5 separate regions of the Homo sapiens genome follow, and regions 2, 3, 4 and 5 are each linked to region 1. The links are contacts of gene promoters, found by promoter capture Hi-C in blood cells and fetal thymus (Javierre and others, 2016). All regions are on one chromosome and are shown on one strand. Each heading gives the region's core, a stretch centred on a gene start or on the middle of the fragment in contact. The rest is flanking DNA. Distances are from core to core; before and after follow the strand shown.

What was found. Contacts are between HindIII fragments. The CHiCAGO score rates a contact against its expected background, and 5 or more counts as called.
Region 2: a fragment that was not itself captured here is called in contact with the fragment with the promoter of FAM177B in region 1 in 3 of 17 cell types (naive B cells, total B cells and megakaryocytes); the score reaches 7.2 in naive B cells.
Region 3: a fragment that was not itself captured here is called in contact with the fragment with the promoter of FAM177B in region 1 in 2 of 17 cell types (megakaryocytes and erythroblasts); the score reaches 6.0 in megakaryocytes.
Region 4: a fragment that was not itself captured here is called in contact with the fragment with the promoter of FAM177B in region 1 in 1 of 17 cell types (megakaryocytes); the score reaches 5.3 in megakaryocytes.
Region 5: a contact is called between a fragment that was not itself captured here and the fragment with the promoter of FAM177B in region 1, in 3 of 17 cell types (naive B cells, megakaryocytes and erythroblasts). The highest score is 7.2, in naive B cells.

What each region holds. Positions count from the first base shown.
Region 1 is chr1:222,735,927-222,738,463 of GRCh38, forward strand. It overlaps FAM177B (family with sequence similarity 177 member B), which reads left to right and starts at 1,276. Exons shown (of 6, transcript NM_001394345.1): 1 at 1,276-1,396; 2 at 1,978-2,095. RefSeq lists an enhancer at 518-1,059. The HindIII fragment of the contact is 3,071 bases long and covers 228-2,537 here.
Region 2 is chr1:223,146,723-223,149,259 of GRCh38, forward strand. It overlaps LOC124904522 (a long non-coding RNA gene), which reads left to right. Exons shown (of 2, transcript XR_007066895.1): 2 at 1,166-2,435. Among named protein-coding and RNA genes, the nearest start is that of TLR5, 4.7 kb to the left of the region's middle. The HindIII fragment of the contact is 4,461 bases long and covers 1-2,537 here.
Region 3 is chr1:223,057,777-223,060,313 of GRCh38, forward strand. LOC124904520 (a long non-coding RNA gene) reads left to right here and starts at 2,529. Exons shown (of 2, transcript XR_007066890.1): 1 at 2,529-2,537. The HindIII fragment of the contact is 229 bases long and covers 1,151-1,379 here.
Region 4 is chr1:223,036,553-223,039,089 of GRCh38, forward strand. No RefSeq gene overlaps it. Among named protein-coding and RNA genes, the nearest start is that of TLR5, 110 kb to the right of the region's middle. RefSeq lists enhancers at 98-778, 1,459-2,138. The HindIII fragment of the contact is 4,357 bases long and covers 1-2,537 here.
Region 5 is chr1:223,020,203-223,022,739 of GRCh38, forward strand. No RefSeq gene overlaps it. Among named protein-coding and RNA genes, the nearest start is that of TLR5, 120 kb to the right of the region's middle. RefSeq lists an enhancer at 2,451-2,537. The HindIII fragment of the contact is 3,936 bases long and covers 1-2,537 here.

The DNA of each region.
Region 1 (2,537 bases), core at 26-2,525:
CATAAGTTTGTATCTAAAGATTTTATTTGACATTTGAATAATTTGCTTAAAATTTAAATATTTAAGAATGTTATAGTAATAAAGGGATCAAAATAGTTAATCTGGAAGGGGAGTTGACAAATTATAAAACAGAAAACTATATTTGATTGTGCATATCCAAAAAGCCAGAGCTATCACTTCAGCAATTTAATGTATCTAATGCCTGTGATTTGCTTGAGGTCGGTAGAAGCTTATATAGTCACTTTCAGAGCACTCCCCTGAGAAAATGTCAAGACTTGAATTTGCTTCTCTAATGCAGAGCTTCTCAAGTAGTTTGTCTCAAGCTATTGATCGAAGCCTTCTGGGTGTCTAGCTGGGCAGCACTTAAGGTGGCTGGAGCTCCCAGGCTGGTCGCCTCCAGAATTCCAAACAACTAATTTTCTCTATCTGCCATGATGTAAAAAATGCTGTGAAACACCACAGTGGGACAGGCATGGACAGGCATGCAGGCAGTGGGGTGCATGTATGTGGTTTAATACTGAAAATAAGGATACAAAAATCCTGCCAGGTGATGCTCCTGTAATTCTCAAGGAGCGGCAGTGATTTGTTATTTCACATTTTTCCTCACTCTATCCTTGCCCCTGACACACACACTGCAAGTCACTGATTGGAGCAGGCCAGTTCCTTCAGGTGAAGGGGCCTAGAGAAATGTCGGTGAATACCCAGTGAATACCACGCTGTGAAACTCTGCATCTGAGGCACGCAGTGGGGCTTTGGTTCTCTCCTCTCACCAGGGGTTTGACCTTTCAACCACCTCAGAAAAAAGGAAAGGTGGAAGCAGGAAGGGGGACCAGCAGCTCCAGGCAAGCAATGCTAATTAGCTCCAGCGTAATGACCCAACATCAGTTCTTAGCTGAATTTTAACAGTCCATTTGAAAACATTTTCTAGATAAATGAAAATGGAAAGAGCTCTAGAAAATGTTTAAGTGTTACATACTTAAAATAGTATATTTACTTATTGAAGTTAAATGCCAAGATGTAGAACTAGTGTGTTATTTTCTTGGTACAGATTACAATGCTGTGTTTCAGTGAAGGAGCTAATTGAAATGATTAGTAGATAGATGTAATCAGAAAAATATTAAATGAAGATAGTAATTTCTAAAGCAGGAAATAAAGACAGTTACAAGTCTGTTCTTATTTTTCCAATCTGTTATATAACTCCTCCCACCCATTAACCTTAACTAAATGTATGATTCATTTGTTAAACAAATACTGAGTTCCAGCTACGTGTAAGGCATCATAGGGGCAGAAGATACAGCAGTGAACATAACAGGTAAAACCCTCCCCCTCTGCCAAGGGGCAGGACAGGGAGGAAAGGGAAGACAGAGACAGGTGGAATATGGAGTGTTCAGTGTTGGTAAGTGCTAAGGAGAAAAAATGAAACAGGAGGTAAGATGCAGAGGGTGGTGGTGAAGGCAATGGGAGGTTGCCTTGAAAGCGGAGCTCAGTGTAGTCTCCATTTGAGTTAAAGACTGGAAATGAGCAAGGAAACAGTCTAAGGAAAGAAAGACTAATAGAGCAGCCAGCAGAGAGCTCTCTGCAGAGAGAGAGGGCGGACCTGTGTGGTCAGGGAATTGCAGGAAGAAGGCCCGTGGGGTTAGAGTGATGTCAGTGGTGGGAGAGTAGTACAAGATGGCGTCAGAAAGCTCGTAGGGGTTAGGTATACAGCCTTGTAGGCCATTATGAGGAGTTTGGCTTTTACTCTAGGTGAGACGGGAACCCACTGGAGAGTTTTAAGCAAAGACATGACATGGTCTCACTTAGGATTTAACAATTCTGGCTCCTTTTCGAGCGTAGACTGGAGGGGGCCAATTAGGAGGCTGCTGCAATAATCTAGGTGAGAGACGACGGCAAGGGTGAGAGATGATAGACCAGGGTGGTAGCAGTGGAGTAATGAAAAGTATGATTCCAGAAATATCCAAGACAATTTCCTGGCAGATTTGATGTGAGGTGTGATTAAAGAAGAACCAAGAATGACTTTAGTGTTGTTGGCCTGAGCAACTGGAAGAACAGAGTTGCCATTTATTGAGATGAGAAGGCTGCCAGAAGAGTAGAGGTAAATGTGTGAGTATGTGTGTGTTGGGGGGATGGAGGGAGAGTTGCACTGAAAGCATGAGCAAAGATTTAGACAAATTAGGATTGAGATGTCCATTAGACAACTAAGAAGAGATGTCAAGCAGGTAGTTGGATCTGTGAGACTCAGGGAAAAAGTCTGACCTGGAGAATATAAATGTTACAATCATCTGTGTGTGGATAGTATTGAAAGCCACAGGGCCAAAGGAGATCATCAAGAAAGCAGATAGGAAAGAGAAGAGGTCCAATCACTGAGCCCTGGGGTAATACAATATTTAAAAGGTCAGAGAGATTATATGGCCTGTTAATTACATTATATACTTAGGAACTATCCTTCATAGTCTGTATTTGGGGTTTTTAAGAAACAAAAGGTAGAGGTGCTCCCAAGAATTAAACTGAGCCGGGCGCAGTGGCTCATGCCTGTA
Region 2 (2,537 bases), core at 12-2,511, 410 kb after region 1:
GCTGCAAAATTCATGCTGTTAAGCACCATCCCTTACTGATATTGTGGTAATGAACAAGCTGGACAAGGTCCCTGGTCTCATGGAACTTACATTCTGGCACTGGAGATGTAGAGGAGAAGACAGAGTGGGGCAAGGTTTAGATTGTAGAATCAGAAAAACTGGATCCTTATAAGAGAAAGAGCAGTCAGGGCAAATTCACAAGACACTGGCTTTGTGATTGGTGGATAGTTGTGTCAGTCATGGAGTTAGGAAATACAAGCTAGGGGTGGTAGGGTGGCGGAAGGTGAACTTGGAGGGATGAGTTCATTTTGGGATAAACTGGTGTTGGACTGACTGTGGGATATGGAGGTGGAGCCATCGAGTGAGCAGTTGAAGTCATGTGTCCAGAGCATAGAAAAGATGTTTATATGGAGACAATGGGGGGATCAAAGATGGGGGGACAGTTGGAGACATAGGCGGAAAACAATAGCTAGAAGACAGGCTTAGTCCAAGAGTTCATAAAGGAAAAGATTGATAAATTCAACTGCCTTAAAATGAAGACCTTGTGTTCATCAAAAGACATATTTAAAAGAATAAAAAGATAGGAAACAAAACCAGAGAGATGCTTGCAACACATATAACTGCCACAGCCCAAGCATCCAGATTATCTTCAGAACTCATACAAATCAGTAAGAAAAGTCAGTAGAAAAATGGACAAAAGATACAGGCAGATACTTCATAAAAGAGGAAATATAAGATGACCAATAAATAAATGAAAAAGTACCAAACCTCATTAGAAATCTTAGAAATGCAAATTAAAGCTATAATACATCACATATTATATAAATCATATTGGCCAAAAATAAAATGTCTGACAATAAAAAGTGTTGGTGACGATATGGTGCAAACAGAATTCTCACTTGTTGCTAGTGGAAATGTGAATTGGTATAACCACTTGGTAGAAGTTTGGCACTGTCATGGAAACTTGAAGATTCACATGCCCTAAGACCTAGGAACTCCATGCCTAGGTGCATAACCTGATATGCTCATATGCCACAATATATATACGAAAATCTGTAAGGCAGCATTGTTTGTTATATCCTTTGTACTAGACAGCTTCTATGATGGCTCCCTAAGATTTCTGCCTCCTGATATTCATGCCTTTCTGTAATCTTCTCTCCTTAAGTGTGAACTGGACCCAGCAACTTCTTCTAACAAATAGAGCATGACAAAATTGATGGGATATCACTTCTGAGATTAGATTACAAAAGGATGTGACTTCTGCCTTGCTCACACTCTCTCTCTGGCCCTCTTGCGTGCTTGCTCTCATGAAGCTGGCTGTCATATTGTCAGCTGCCCTATGGAAGGACCCATATGGCAAGGACTCAAGGGAAGCCTCTTGCCAACAGCTGGTGAGGAACTGAAGCCATCAGTCTAACAGCCTGTGATAAAATGGTTCTTGCCAACAACCACTTAAGCGAATTCAGCATCGAATCATCCCCAGCTCAAGCCTTAAGATGAGACCATAGCCCCAGCTAACACCTTGATTACAGTCTTGTGAGAGACCAGAGCCAGAGGACCTAGCCAAGAGTCCATGCCTGGAGTCTCAATCTACAGAAACTGTCACATAATACATGGTGTTTTAATCCACTGTGTTTTGGCATGATTTGTCACACAGCAAGATAACTAATACAAATCACCAAACTAGAGATCCCTCAAATGGTCATCAAAAGTAGAATGGATAAGCTGGGCTGGGCTCAGTGTCCCATGCTTGAGCCCAGGAGCTCAAGATTGTAGTGTGCAATGATCACACCTAGAAATAGCCACTTCACTCCATCCTGGGCAACATAGTGAGAGCCAAAAATAAAAAATAAAAATAATAAATAAATAGGAGTCATTGAATGAATTTCAAGGTGGGAGTGGCCAATGGTGCCAACTGTTCTAGAGTCAAATACCAAAAGAAGTGAAGTTTCCCGACTGGATGCGACAAGTTGCAGGTTTGCAGACCTGATTCTGAGATGGCCCTCGAGATTCCCATCTTTGGCACCCCTCTCCATTTTTGTGGGTGGGATCTGTGACTATAATGGGATCACTGCTCCCTTGATTAGGTGCTGTTATATGAGACTCCATCTGAGCAGACTGTCTAGTAATTCACAGCTGGCCCCAAAGAAGCAAATGGCCTTGTTATGAACTACTTACCTCAGGTCCTAGCCGCATGGCCCCCTTCAAAGGCTAAGAGTGACTCTCACCAACCAGCAAAGACAAAATAGGATGTCATTTCTACAGCTACAAGGAACTGGTTTCTGCCCACAACCCCAAGCTCCAGAAGGAATTCAGCCCAGCAAACACCCGGATTTCAGTCTGTAAGACTCTGAGCAGAGACCCCAGCCACACTATGCCTGGATTCCTGACTCCTTGTAACTGTGAGATAATAAAAGGCTAATGTTTTATGTCAATAAATTTCTTGTATTTTGTTATGCAATAGAAGAAAATAAATATAGCAGGTCATCAATGACCTAAGGGCAGAGTAGGTGATAGAGATCATGTGAAGTCTTTAA
Region 3 (2,537 bases), core at 15-2,514, 320 kb after region 1:
CTTCTCAGCATGTCATTCATAGCTTACAGTGTCCTCCTGGTCACACATTTCTTTCAGCTTTTGTCATTACAGTTGAATAGAGACCATTTAACATTCTAGAGTTGGCTGCATGCAAGCATTAAAACCTTTGAGAGAACACAGAGCACCAGAGAGACTGTTATTATGACTATCTACAGGATAATAACAAGAGTTTGGAATATGCTCCTTACCCAGGGTTCCCAAAAACCAAACCACCTAAAATCAAATAGATCAAAGAGCAAGCTAAACAGTCCACTCGCTTAACTAAGTGGTCTTTTTGTTAATCCCCTACAACGGAATCTCTGTAATACCTTATGTATATCTCCCTAGGCCAGAAGTGCCAGCAGATACATAGACACTTTTCTGTCTAGCCAGTTCTATTACTTACCTTAACTTTCACAAGAGAATTGAAAGTCTTCTGTGTAACTACAGCCTTTACAGTAAAATCTGCTATAGAGCCTATTGTAAGGGATACATCTCTGATCATCACCTCTTTTATTCAAAAACATGGAAAAAGGACCTAACAAATGATGCCCTTCTAGAAGAGTGAAGGCCTCCTGGCAATGTTCTCTTTAATCCATGATACGGGTTAAGAGGAGTGAACCAATGTACTGTTTCTGACTGACTATGAGGCAACGTATGTACCATTAAAGTTCCCCACATCGGGCCTTCATCTTTTGTCTATCAAAGTATAAGGTTATCCATGTATAAGGCTGGCTGCAAAATCCTTCACAAATAAAAGTATACCCCATAAGTGCATGCAGCAGACACCCTCTTCATTTCTATTGTTCACAGAGGCATAAGCAAGGAAAAAATTTTCAAAGATAAGAGTCTCATGACAGTAGAAGTCTTCATCCACGATCTTAGGAAAAGCCATTCACATCAAGGTTGCCATATTCGTCTGGGGAGAGACTTCCTTGGTTAGCTTTACCTTAAAGTTTCCACTGGGTGTATAGTTCCAAGAGCGTGGAGGGACCCTTCTCAGTTGTGCGATTATGAACCCAAGTTTCAAGATCCTAAAGTTTTGTTGCAGTGTGAATGGCAAGGACAGTCTTTCTCTGATGTTTTCAGAAGATGCAATTTTCAGGTTCTAGATGATGAAGGGGTTGACTGTCCTCAGTGAATCACAAAAAGCTTTCTTTACCTGGTGAAAATATACTGTAACACAGTAATCTACTACATCTTATTATTATTATATTATTATGCTTCATACATGTAGCATAATAATCTATTACATAATATCAGCACTCTTGCACGGAAGAGCTTTTATACAACTAGAAAACATGCACCGAAAATAACAATTGAATGAAATCCTTTTATAAAATGTTTAAATGGCCCATCAGGTAACCAAATGTACCTGAAGCTTTGATTGTTTTTCCCAGGAATATGGGTTAACAAACCAAACATTGGTTATAAGCTATTTTAGCAATTTATAAGTTACCACACCAATATATTTAATTTGGATTATTTTGTCTTTCCCATGATGAGTCATGGAATGCAGAACTTTTAATAACAAAAGCTTTAAGGACTCAGGAAGAACAAAGTGGCTGTCCTGGTTCTCCATGAGTCCATGCTTGATTAACATTAGACTTATGTCCTCTTCAATACCAGTTGTTTCTCCAAATTAGGTGCATAGCACTGATAATTGATGGGTTGTCATAGGTAATTTGACTTAGATCATGGATTTCATTCAAATTTCATCAGGACAGAGGATGGAACTCAGAGGTGAGAGGGTTGGACTCTGGATGTTTCCTTTGGAAAACTGCAGACAGTAAGTGATCCTATGTGTATGTGTGGCGGAGACTGGAGACTGTGCAGGGCTTGGAGAACCCATGAGGCTCCCATGGACTTATTTACTCCCAGCTGCAATATCAGCAAGCCACTGTTGACCCAGATCCTATGTGGCCAGCTGCCCTGCTATTTGAGTCCTCCTTGCGGCTGGGCGCAGTGGCACACACCTGTAATCTTAGTACTTCGGGAGGCCGAGGTGGGTGAATCACAAGGCCAGGCATTCGAGACCAGCCTGGCCAACATAGTGAAACCCCATCTCTACTAGAAATACAAAAATTAGCTGGGCGTGGTGGCGGGAGCATGTAATCCCAACTACTCGGGAGGCTGAGGCAGGAGAATCGGTTGAACCTGGGAAGTAGAGGTTGCAGTGAGCTGAGATTGTGCCACTGCACTCCAGCCAGGACAACAGTGGGAGACTCCATCTCAAAAAAAGAAAAAGTCCTCTTTGCATAGTTTTGTATTTGTAGGAGTGCTTATGGGTGCTGAAGGGTCTGTAGGAAAGATGGACTTTATCAGATTAATGTAAAATTTACAGGATATACACTAGCTAATAGCAAGGAAATCCTTTACTCAATATACTCACAAAATGGATTAGAAAACCAAAAACAAACACTACAATAAACCACCAAATCATGCCTTGCTCCAATGTCTCTTCCTGTATCTCTTCCTGTATTTTTCACTGCTCCTTATAAGAGGTTCATGTAATGCTTTCTTTGTAGAATTTCATA
Region 4 (2,537 bases), core at 21-2,520, 300 kb after region 1:
GCTGTCAGAGAAGCAGGGCGCCCAGGGAAAAACATGAGTCAGAAGCAGCAGAAGTGAAGGCAGAGGTGCACTTTAGCCCCATGCCATGCTTGCCACCCTAACAGCCTTTCAGGCAAGTCAGCGTGCCCTTGGTTTCCTAGCAGGCGCGCCCTCCCAGGTGGAGTCCTGGGGCTGAACACATCCCCTGGACCCACATGGAGTTTCCAGGATCTGAGTTCATGACACTAATTGCTGGTTTATCCTTTTCTCCTCCGGGGAAATTCTTACGGCTGGGAAGATTCCCTCTGATATTTTAGAAGAACATAATAATTAAGCATTTTAAGGGGAGGAGGCTTGTAGAAGTTCAAATTAGATGCTATATGGGGAAATTATAGCTGCTGCCGCCAAGAAGCAGCAGCAAGAAAGGCTGTCAGCAAGAAGTTGCGTGCAACGGCGACAGGAATGGGCCCACTTTGGACCAGCAGGGCTAGGCGTGCTTCCCCTTCCTGCACCTCTGCCCATTCCACCTCAGGTCCAGGCGCTGCCCAGGGCCCAACAGACCAGGGAGCAGCTGGATTCTCATCTCCCAAAACCACACAAGAAGTCCTGGCCTTCTCAGATGGTGGGCATGAAGGGGTGGGACCCCCCACTCCATGGACCACCTTCCTCCTGTGTCTACCCCACCAGCAAATCATGGGCAAGGAGGGCCATGGGGCTGCTGGTGAAATGGCACAGTTCCCTGATTCCCCTCGCAGGACATGGGGCTGCTGGTGAAATGGGACAGTTCCCTGATTCCCCTCGCAGGACATGCGACAGGGGTGTTGCCTGCTTGGTCATCCTGCAGATCAAACCCCTGGCGGGAGCATGCAGACAGGAAGGTACAGAGGCTGGGGCGAGTGCTTTTGGGATCCTGCCCCACGCAGCATCTAGGGGCGGATGTCCGTGCCTCCCGAAGCCCAAGTGAGCAGTGTGTTACAGGCTCTTTCAGGTTTGCCATCTGCAGATGGCTTGTGTGTTAATCAGCTCAATGGACAAAGTGTGACAGCTTTCTCTATCATCTGGAGCTCTTGCCTAGTGTGCGGGAAAAATAGGATCACACGTGGTCTCGAAGGATGAGTGCAAGATTTTATTGAGTAGTGGAGGTGCCTCTCAGCAAGATGGATGGAGAGTCGGGAGGAGGCATGGAGTGGGAAGGTGGTCTTCCCCTGAAGTCCAGCTGTTCTCGGCCCCTTAGGTCCTTCTCTGCCGTGCTGCCCTACTGCTTTTTGTCGCTCTGTTCCTCTGCTCCTCTCCGTGTTCAGCCGCTTGTGTGTCTGAGCCTGCTAAGATCTGGGGTTTCTATGGGCACAAGATGGGGGGCATGACAGGCCAGAGTGGTCTTGGAAAATGCAACATTCGGACATAAAAACAGGAGTGCTTGTTCTCACTTAAGTCCGCAGGCACAGGCCTGAGGGTGGAGCCCCGGCGAGGGACTCCGCCCTTCTCTAGCCAGCACTTCCCTGCCCCCGTGTCCACTGCGTCTTCCCCCTGAGCTGTCGAGGCTGTTTTCAGGAGCCGGTGGTGAGGAATCCCAAGATGGGAAGATAGTGCCTCCTCCCTCCTCCCAGGCCTCCAGGAGGCTGCCCTCCAGGACAGAGGACAGAGAAGGGGAGATTCCTGCTGGCATTCTCTGCTGGTGTATGGGCTCTGAAGTGGGCCCAGGAATTCATGCCATCCAAAGGAGGAGGACCCAGGAGTTCTGTTGGCCTCACACCTTCTGTCCAGAGAAGCAGTTCTGGGGACAGAGAAGTGCTGGGGCGCAGGGTGGCCGAGGCTGCGCGTCCACATCTCATCATTCCTGGACTGTTGAGATTGGCCATTGGTGACTTTACCTCCTGTCTGCGCTGTGCCAGCAAAGGTGGAGCCCACACCCTGGGGTAGAACAGCTCTTGCTCAGGGAGGGCCCGCTCTGGGCATGGTTGGGCTCGGGGCTTCGTTGGGCCCGGGGCATGGTTGGGCTCCACGCCTGAGTCTCCCTGCAGCTCCCACGTGTGTGCCTCCTCCTCAGTGAGACATAGTCCCTGCAGTGTTTAAAGGTGGGGATCACATGTTTTGCTCAGTGGCTTTGGGGACTGGGTGTTTCTCCTCTCAAACAAAATTGGGAGCCTTCTGGGTCTTTGGCCCCGCCTGCCTCTGCATGAGTGTTTATGGGATTCCTGTAACCAGGCAGACCCATTTCCAGATTCGTAGAGGATGGCAGCCCGCCTGTGTAAATGCCATGGTTGCCTGACATGGATTGGCACTGGGGCTGGCCCAAGGACCCGGGGCCCTGCTTGGCGTCGGCTGCCCCTGAGCTGCTCGCTTTCTTTGGCATTCACAGAGGGGCCTTTGTATAGTTAGCAGCCTACACAGAGCTCTTTAGGCCATGACCATGGTGGAGTCAGGTTGGAGCGGGGGCCCAAAAGCAGCTGCAAGGCCAGGTCCCTGGGGCACAGAGGAATGTGTGGAGTCTGGCGGGGGGCTGTCAAGTCCAGGTTGCTTAGTACAGACCACGCAGGGAACACGGGAATCCAGATGGC
Region 5 (2,537 bases), core at 21-2,520, 280 kb after region 1:
CAATGGGAGGCTGATGATGAGGAGTGAGGTGGGGAGGCCAGACCCGGGTATGTCTGCCTACAGCGGTAGAGTAGCACACACCCGTGAGCGTAGGCATATTACTCAATTCTTTAAGCCTCAATTTCCTCATCTGAAAGGGAATGCAGTAATGCTTTATAAGAAGACGTCAAGGATTAAATGAGATTTAATAGGAATCCAATAAAGGTGAGTTCCTGTCTGCATTCCTCAATCCCTCACCCTCTCCTGTTCCCTTCCAGTAAACCAGCACGTAGAGACGAGGCCTGCAAGTAACCCATCTCCCCTCGTCTCTGTGATGGGACCAGAGATCCACCACCAGCATCCTCTTTTCCCTCCTTATAAACATGACTTCTATTTGTCCCTCAACATCTTTGAATTCTGAACTTTTAGGGTTCTCATAAGAAAGTAATTGGCCGGTAAACTGAGGTCTGGGCTGGGAAAATCCTGACCAGGGCTTTCTCCAGGAGATGAGGTTGAGGAGAAGGTGCCCCCATCATGGTGGATCAAAACAGCCAGAAATAGCCCAAAGGCCTTTGGGAGGCCCAGTGGCTCAGGCACTTAACATGGGTATCGCAGGGGAATCTGGGATGACAAAGATCCTCAGAACCCCCCAGCAGCCATCCAGAGCTCCAGGACCTCAGAAACAGCCGCTGAGGCTTAGGAGCTGTCCTTGGAGCCAGTCTGATCCGGCCTGGTGGGAACAGAAACTTGTGAAGTCCTGCAGCCCTCTGTCCCTGCCTACGGATCAGACCCAAGCTCCCTCAGTGAGAGAGGGTCACTCTGCCAGGGGTAGGTGAATCTTTCATGTTGGCACCTTCCCCACCCCCTAGGGACAACTGGAGAGGGCTGGTGGTTCCTGTCTCCAAGCTCTTCTCCATAAATTACAGGCTTCTCAGTTTTCTGTGACTGATCTGATTACCTCTGGCATGTTTCAGGTTCAAATAATGTTGTCCACCTTTCCCAGAAACTGGATATTGGGCTATTCCCTGGCCAATTGCTCCCTGATATCAGGAAGGAGCCAGGGTGGAGGTAGCAAGTCTCATTGCCCAAAATCTCTGATGGCCGTGAGCAGAGCTGGGGGCCAATGGGCCGGACGAAGTCATGGATTCCTGAGGGAAGAGGCAGCTTGTAGACCTCACAGGATCCACACACGCCCCCACCCACATCAGGACCAAAGTCAAGGCCAGTCTGTGATCTTTGTGCTCCCCTCAGCTCCCAGGACTCCTTGGAGACAGACGAAGTACCATCCAGGCTGGACATCCCTGGTTCTGACCTGGCCTCTGGGCTCAGCATTGTCCTGCAGCCTGGCCTTAGCTACCTCCATGGATGAACCTTATTTGAATGATGGACATTTTATTTTTTGAGACAGAGTCTTGCTCTGTCTCCCAGCCTGGAGTGCAGTGGCATGATCTCGGCTCACTGCAATTTCTGCCTCTCTGGTTCAAGTGATTCTCCTGCCTCAGCCTCCCAAGTAGTAGAGATTACAGGAAAATGCCACCACACCCAGCTAATTTTTGTATTTTTAGTAGAGATGGGATTTCACCATGTTGGCCAGGCTGGTCTTGAACTCCTGACCTCAGGTGATCTGACTGCCTCGGCCTCCCAAAGTGCTGGGATTACAGGCGTGAACCACTACACTCAGCCCTGAATGACGGACTTTTATGGAACAGAAACTAGCTTGGTCTATTTTAAGCAGAGTAAAAAGATTTTTGCGAGAAGAATTGGGGTGCCTCATGGAACCCATGGGCAGGCTTCCCAAGGGGCTGGAAGCAAGAAATCTCTCCCCTGGTCTCTGTCTCTGCTGTCTCTCTCGGTTTGTCTCTGTGTCCGCTTCCTTCACTCTCTCTCTCTTTCTCCTCCCTCTCTCTCTCTGGATTGACTTTCTCTGCTCACTTTGCACTTGGTTTGTCGGGGCTACTCCAAAATGGTGCCCTCAGCCCTGGGTCCGCACCACCCAGCTCCAGCAGCAAACTGACCCAGGCTGTTAGAGTCCGAGTTGCAAATTTCAAGAGCGACAATCTGACTGGGCCAGTCTGGCCTCTGGGTCAGTTCCCCGGGGTCAGGTCTCTGCAGGATGATGTTCAACCATCGCAGCCAAGGAGCAACAGAGCCACGAGAACATCACTCTGGCTTCTCCCTGGGCAGCAGAAGGAAGGTGGAGAAGACACCTCCAAAAGGCATCTGTCACAGGTTGAGGCCAACATCCCCATCAGCTCTGAGGCCGAACAGTGCCTCCCTACATCTACCTGCCAAGGGCACTGGCAGGGCTTAAGGTGAGACAAATAAAAATGCAAGGTGGCCGGGTCCTGTCTCTCCTTACAGGCAGCAGGAAACTCTTGCCCCAGCCTGCTGCTCCCTTAGTCCCACCCAGGCCCCTATTCAAGGAGTGAATTCCAGAGAAGGAAACAGGAGCCCCAGCCTCCTCACAGTGCCACAGTTAGACACTGGTGCCAGCAGGCACTTCCTCAACACCTCCAGCCCCAGGCGCTTCCTCCCTGAGAGCAATTCCATCTGGGTTA